Regions from separate parts of the Homo sapiens genome. Here region 1 is linked to region 2. Evidence: promoter capture Hi-C in human tissues and cell types (Jung and others, 2019). All regions are on one chromosome and are shown on one strand. The core of a region is centred on a gene start or on the middle of the fragment in contact, and the rest is flanking DNA. Distances in the headings are between cores, read along the strand shown. Region 1 overlaps PTPRG (protein tyrosine phosphatase receptor type G). Region 2 holds the start of PTPRG (protein tyrosine phosphatase receptor type G).

Region 1 (3,716 bases), core at 967-3,466, 350 kb before region 2:
ATGAGAGGAAAAGTAACTCCATGAACCAAGGTTTCCACTCAGATGGGACATAAACCAGAGCCTTTGTGATCCCACTGTGAAGTATACTCAATTAGGCTGGAAAAGGGGGGAGGTTTTCCTTTTGTTATAACACTGAAACAAAATAGGATTCTTTAGTAAATTTGGACCGATCTCTGAGAGCTGAGCTCTTCTCTAAGACCACGCCTCTCAGTTTACACAGCTTTAGAAACCCAGACATTCACACTGGTGAGAAGAAAGCATCAGACAAAACTAAAAGCTGGGGAGATTTCCCTTAGAGATTAGTCACATAACCAAGTATGTTCACTTCAGGTGTAATGAACGAGGTAATGCTCATCCAGCCATGGGTGCAGACTTAGTAAGGAATATGCTTTCAATGGAATAAAAGGCACAGACCACTGGATATCCCTTTGTGAAGACCACAAAAGCAAGGTTACAAAAAGACGTAAAGAAACTCATACAGAAATATAAGATCTAGAAAACTCTGAGCAACCACTGAAGCCACACATCCATATGAGTGCATACACATACATATGCACTCGTAGAGTGCATCTGTATGAATCAGAAAAAGGTGTCCCTCGGCCGGGTGCGGTGGCTCACGCCTGTAATCCCAGCACTTTGGAATGCTGAGGCAGGCGGATCACGAGGTCAGGAGATTGAAACCATCCTGGCTAGCACAGCGAAATCCCGTCTCTACTAAAAATACAAAAAATTAGGCGGGCGTGGTGGCGGGCACCTGTAGTCCCAGCTACTCGGGAGGCTGAGGCAGGAGAATGGCATGAACCCAGGAGGCGGAGCTTGCAGTGAGCCAAGATCGCGCCACTGCACTCCAGCCTGGGTGATAGAGCGAGACTCCGTCTCAGAAAAAAAATAAAAAAGAAAACGTTGTCCCCTCAAAGGTTGAAAAAGTACCTGCTGGGGACTACGCTCACTATTTGGGTGATGGGTTCAACAGAAGCCCAAACTCCAACATTATGCAATACATCCATATAACATAACTGCACATGTATCCCCTGAATCTAAAGTTTAAATGAAAAGAAAAGGTGTCCCTTGCTCTGATATGCAGCCGCCATTGGTCTCCTTGGCTGGTGCTCTCACACAGTGAGCAGCCTGCCCAGCTGTCCACTGCAGTCCTTCACATACACCTGTTCATGTTATTTTCAGCATGAGAAAAACCAGTAAAGCAAAAAGAAATTGGAAGAAAAATACTAAAAAATGGTGAAAAAAAAATAAAACCTAAACATCAATGACTTGTTTCCAGAGTCTGTTTCCTGCCAGTAAACTAAAATACCCACATCAAACCACTCTTAAAATGATTCCAGGCTCTGCATAATTCAAATGTTTTACAAGAAACTCCTAACTGCATGGAGAATAAAGAAATGCCAACCTCCCAAATCTTGGTCCCGATTGACAAGAATAAGGGGAATTAAATATCAAAACTATGCAGATTATTCAAGAATATCAAACAAAAAGGCAAAAGATCAAAAAACAGCTATACAACTTTTAGAAAAGACTGTCGGTCTTCTGAGCACAAAAATCAATCATGATGACCAATTCCAAAGGATTTTTTTTCTTTACTTTTTCCTCTTTTTAACATTAAAGGGTAATTAAGTCATACATAAGTGAAGCTTTGCAGTTTGACTTCAGTAAGCAAAGCCTAATTCTAAATGATGCTGAGACACTACAGAATGCAAATCCATGAGTAATTTTTAAATTTAAAAGGGAACCAAGAAAACACCCTCTTCATTATGCAAATTCCTCCTACCTTCTCAGTGGGCTAGTTCTCACCCAAGTAAATAGAAGAGTTATTGTTTTGTTTGCTGACTGTTTTGGTCTTAATAGTGGTAAGGGGCCATAACTACATTCCCATGGAAATTATATATAAAGAAGGGGTATTTCTAAAGCTGACTATACTGTTGCGCATTTTCTAAGAGTACCAAGGAATACTCTTAGAAGGAAATCCTATGAGGCTACAAAAATACTTCATAAAAATAGAAGGCAGCTAGATAAGATCCTGAGGACTCGCTCCTTACACCACTCACAAAAAGAAAAGATTTAATTACATTAGAAGGACATCAAATGATGCACACTGACAATTAAAATAGAAGAAATTGGGGGCGTAAATCATCCTGGTGAAAAATACACAGATTTACCAGGAGTGAAAGAAATGCAAATTGAAACAACTTTAAAGTTACACTTCACAGCTATTAAAATACAATGAAATTATAAAATTCAATTTTTGGTAGAGCTCTAGATAAACAGGTACACACTGCTGGCAATGAAACCAACTTCAATCTTTCTTTAAATGATCTAGCAGCCTTTAATAAGAGCTGTTCAAACGCAGTAATTTCAAAGAAGTAACTTGGGGAAAAAAGAAATTAATTTATACCAAGAAATATTACATTTCATTATAAAATAATGAAATTGAAAACAATGCTTCAAAATGGGGAAACAATCATACAAACCATGACGCAGCAGCATGGTATATAATGACATTTAAGGTAATGACATGTAAAATACATCCCCTATTAAAAATACACTTGTAGACAATATTAACAGAAAGATATGTATTTAAGTATATTTATTCAATCAACAAGAAAAATGCAATTAAATGTATTTTCATAGTGAATGTGAAAAGCAGAATCAAAAGTAGTCCCAAATGGAAAAATAGGTTCAAATATTTAGTAAAAATAACATAGGAAGCCAAAGTGATGGAATTAGCATTTAATTTGCCTACTCTTTTATCCCACTCTCAACAAATATTAATTGGACTTCTATGTCTCTGGTGCCTGGCCAGACACTTAAAATACAGTAAGGAGAAACAAAGGCACAGGTACTGACCTCATGATTACGAAGTTCACAAGGGAAATGTCTCTGCCCCCTTCCCCTCTTTGTCTTGAAACCAAAAATGTATTAAGTATCAGTTCATAAGTATTGAAAGGGTTTGAAAGAAGGAAATAGAGGTTGTCATAGGAGAGAGGAGTATGAAGGTCAAGAGGGGCTTTCCTAAAGACACTATGAGAAACTGGAAGAGTAGACGTTATCCAGGTGAAAGAGGATGCAGAGAGGACAACAGGAGCAGCAGAGGGAATAAGAGGTGCTGAGCCCAGAGAAGGTGCTGGAAGAATAAGGCAGAGGTCTTCTGTGGCCAGAACATAAAGAATGGGGGACAACCAGAGTCAAGAATTGAATCATGGGAGGTGGGGCTGAGACCTGGCAAAGATTCAGGCCTTCCACCTAAGTGCCAAGGGAAGCCCCTGACAGTTTTAATCAAAGCAGGGACCGTCTGGGGCTTGCTCAGATTTCCTCCTGGCTGCACCGAACAGAGGCAGGGGGTTCTGTGGGGAAAGCAGGTGGGAATCAACAGCATAGGGAAAATGACAGCCTTGGATTGTTAAAAGACAAAAAGAAATTCTAGGAGGAGCCTCGGGAGTTATCTCACAGACACAAAGCCTGCACCAGGTACTACAAGGCTGGCTTCACTCTCAATTTCTTAAACATAATTAAGAAAACACAGTCACTACCAGCATAGAAAGGAAAGGAACAGGAACAAATTGGAACAGGCAATATCCAGGAGAGGAAAATCCAGTGGTTAAAGGTGTAAAATGATGCTCAACATCACCAGCAACAAGAGAAAGGCAAGGTAAAACAGTGAGTTACCATTTCATACCCACTGGGTTGGACAACATTAGGATACG
Region 2 (3,849 bases), core at 912-3,411:
GCGCTCCAGCCGCCCGAGGACAGGCGTCTGTAACCAGGCAGAGCGGAGACCTCGGGGCACATTCCTCTTTTTCTTGATTCAGATAACCTCCACCTCCGGGTATGCAGGAGTTGATGGATGAGAGGGCAGAAAAACGGGGAATTCTCTGTCCTTAGGGGAGCGAGGGATGAAAAGCAAATCACCCCTTCTTCCAGCCCTTCCCCGGGCTAGGGCAGGACTTGGCCTCCACCCCAAGGGACAGCTACGAGGGAGCTCGGGGCTGCTGCCCGGGGGACCTGCAAGAGAGGAGAGGGAGGCAGCTGGCCTCTGCCCTCCCCAGGGGAGAGAGGAGGGGGAACTGCCAGCTGAGAGCTGGAAGTGGAGGGTCGCCGAGCCGCACACCGTTACGTGCGGTGATTTATTCTTATCAACGGCCAGTATTGTTCCTGTCTTAACCTGGCCAGAAAGGAGCGAGACTGGGTCTGCCAGCCGCGAACAGCCTGCAAAAGGGCAAAGATGAAGGTAGGCAGGGCGCGCGAGACAGGAAAAAAATCAGCCCCGGCGCGAACAGCAACCCGGCCGCCGAAACCGCCCCGGCCGCCGAAACCGCCCCCGCCCCCTCCCCGCGTCCAGACCCAGGCAATCCAATCGAGCAGAGCAGCGGAGGGAAAGGGCCACGGGCCGGGGCTAGGGGAGACACGGATCTCTCCGAAACCGCCTGCGCCCTGCCGTCTCACTGCGCCCAAGGAGGCTGCCTCACGCCGGCACCGAAGTGCTGCCCGCGCCCCAGCCCCCAGAGAGAGGGAGGACGCCCCCGACCCAGAACGCAGGCTGCTCCCCACACATCCTCAGTCCTCCGCAGCCAGCCTCCGACTTCCATTCCCCGAAACCTAGCCCTCCCAAAGGGATGGAGAACAGCAAAGCAAACCCCCACCTTCTGAGTTCCTTCAATACCCGCCAGAGCGAGGGGGCTCATCCCGGGCCCCCCAAACCCACAGAAGCATCCTTTCCATGGCCTCAGTCTCCCCAACCGCCCCACAACTCGAGTTCTCCCGATCGGCGACGAGTCAGCAAAGCAAGTCCCCCTTTCTCCCGATTCCAGCTCCCCAGGACCCCCAAAAGGGAGCGGGAGCAGACCCCCGCGTCCCCCAGCCCCCTCCCCGGCCAGCCCCTGCCTCCACCTTCCTCGACCACTAGCCTGCCTCCCTAAACATCATCCAAGCCAGCGGAGCAATCCTTTTCTCCTATCCGGGCGCCGGGCCACCCTCCACCCTCTCCAGGGTCTCCCGGACGGGCGCCGGAGCTCCGCGCCCAGGCGACAACTCCGCATCCCCAACGCGCGCCGGCCGGGGCCGCATCCCCTCGGCGGCCGGCACTCACCGGGGAAGCACACGACATAATGGAGCACGGAACTGGTGATTTTCAGGAACAAAATCCACCAACACGGTTCCAGTAACCTCCGCATGTCCGAAAACGCACATCGAAAAGAGGAAAGCAGGGAGGTAAACTTGTTGAATAAGTTCTTGCCTCCGTGCGAGCCTCCGCTAAGCCGGGGCGCTTCCCCGGCTCGCCCGCTCCACGGGCCCCCCGCGCTCGGCGGCCCGAGTCCCCTTGGAATCCGGGAAGCCGCCGAGCGCCCCCCGGAAAATCTCAAAAAGTGACCGGGAACGCAGAGCCACGCTGGGGACGATCCTCTCGGCGGAGAAAGGCTGCTTTCCGTTTAAAAAGGAGAGAGCCGATCGGGCAGGGCGCGGAGTCGGCGGCCGGCGGCGATGCCCCGGGCCTGGGGCAGGCAGGGACCGCGGGCGGCGGCGGCGAGCAGCCGAGGATCCCCAACTTGAGTCGGCAGCGCAGCACAGCCCGAGAGCCGGCGGGCGGCGGCGGGGCTGAGCGCGGCGCGGCGTCTCCGGGCTTCAGGCAGGCAGCTCCTTCCAGGGCCCCGGGAAGGAAGGAGGCATGTTTGCGAGAGGGGAAGGGGAGGGGAGAGGCAGGGGGAGCGGAGAGCCCCCCAAAATAGAAACGGCCGGAGGAAACGGAGGAAAACACAAAGGATCTCAGAGGGGCGCTGGGGCGAGGGCGCCTTCAGTCCATGCTCCTGAAAGTTGTGGCTCCGGCGCAGGCTGGGAAGGAACGAAGAGCGCGGGGCTGGAAACTGGCCATGCCTCCATACAGGAAGTAACATGTGAGCATGGATCCTGGCAGAGACTTTAAAGCCGGCGAGCGAAGGAGCGAGCGAACAGGGGGCGCGCGGTGGCGGCGGGGGCGCGCAGCCCGGGCCAGCTGGCGGCGGGCGCGCGCTCTCCGCGTTCTTAAAGCAGCCGCGCTTGGCTCCCGCCTTGCGCTGGGTCCCTCGGCTCTGCTCTCTCCGCGCGGCCTCTACTGGGACAGTTTGGGGACTGGGGGCGATTGTAGCCCGTGCGCGGAGAGAGGAGGGAGGCTGCCTTCTGGGGCCGGCTTGTTTTTTGCTGGATTCCCGTTGTTCGAGCTCTTAAAAGACGCCGCACGGTGCTCGGGTTTGGCGAGATCCTCCGCGCAGCTCGCGGATCCCGGACTTGAGGGGCCCCTCGCCCTGGCGAGGGGAAAGGGGGAGGGCGGACAGCTGCCTTTTTAAAGCGATGGGGTTTTCTGTTCGGCTTCACTGCCCTGGCATTTGCAGCGGTGAGGCTCACCGTCTGCGGCTCCTGTTCGCGCCTCCAACACAGCGCATTCCCCCGCCGGGAAACAAAGCCGAGCGGCCTTTGCACTCCGGCTACATTGAGATTTAATTTTTTTTTTTTTTCTTTTTCGGGCTTTCATTGGCCCAGTCCAAGGCTGGGGAAAGTGGGGGAGGGGAGGAATGTCGATCCCAGGATTGCGAAATCTAGCCCTTCCGAGCCCCGCATCCCCTTTCCCGGCGCCACGATGGATCGGTGGCGGAGTTTCCCCAACTCGCAGCTTCTCTGGAGAAGGTTCCCGCACCCCGGTTTGGCCGCGGGGAGGGCGCAGGAAGTGCGCCTCTTACACCCTGCAGGGTGAAAGCAGCGCCGCGGGGCCGGACTGATTTCCTGGCAGCTACCCGGGGAGCGGCTGCTTCTTTAGCAATCGGGGAGAGGCGTCCGGGGGAAATGGGAGGACTAGGCTTATCTGTAATGAGTTTTGTCCCTTGGCTCTCGGTAAGAAGATCTTTATCGCTTAGACTTCTAAGCGCCCTATTTTACATTCTTAACGCTGGGGCTAAAAGTGGGGGAGGCGGGCTTTCGAGTAAATGTGTAACTGAGCCAAGGTAATTAGCCGTTTGACATTTTTTGCCTAATTTTTCTGCCTGTGTTTCAAAGCGATCTTGACGTGGGATTGTTTTGTTTTGTTTTGAGACGGAGTCTCGCTCCGTCGCCCAGGCTGGAGTACAGTGGCTCGATTTCGGCTCACTACAACCTTCGCCTCCCGGGTTCGGGCGATTCTCCTGCCTCAGCCTCCCGAGTAGCTGGGACTACAGGCGCCCGCCACCACGCCCGGCTGATTATTTTTTTGGTGGTTTTTTTTGTTTGTTTTTTGTTTTATTTTGGTTTTTTTTGTAGAGGCGGGGTTTCACCGTTTTGGCAAGGCTGGTCTCGAACTCCTGACCTTGTGATCCGCCTGCCTCAGCCTCCCAAAGTGCTGAGATTACAGGCGTGAGCCACCGCGCATGGTTCTTGTGTTTTAAACGTGTCCCTGCTGTTTCATCCCAACACGGCAGGGTCCTCCACCCACCCAAACATCCCAACCGGATGCTAGGTTTTCAAATAAAGTACAGATGGTCGGAGATCCTCCCGTTCGATGTGATTAAGGAAGCATTTTCACACCCACACTTCCAAAAGAAAAACCTTTGAAAAGTTACGTATGGGATTACAAACT

Evidence for each region. Contacts are between HindIII fragments. The study calls those that stand out against the background at their distance.
Region 1: a fragment that was not itself captured here is called in contact with the fragment with the promoter of PTPRG in region 2 in 1 of the 25 tissues and cell types used here (dorsolateral prefrontal cortex).

What each region holds. Positions count from the first base shown.
Region 1 is chr3:61,910,401-61,914,116 of GRCh38, reverse strand. The region is part of intron 2 of PTPRG (protein tyrosine phosphatase receptor type G); the gene reads right to left. Among named protein-coding and RNA genes, the nearest start is that of PTPRG, 350 kb to the right of the region's middle. The HindIII fragment of the contact is 5,522 bases long and covers 1-3,716 here.
Region 2 is chr3:61,559,883-61,563,731 of GRCh38, reverse strand. It overlaps PTPRG (protein tyrosine phosphatase receptor type G), which reads right to left and starts at 2,161. Exons shown (of 30, transcript NM_002841.4): 1 at 1,360-2,161. The coding sequence starts at 1,444. RefSeq lists an enhancer at 3,384-3,849. The HindIII fragment of the contact is 9,021 bases long and covers 1-3,849 here.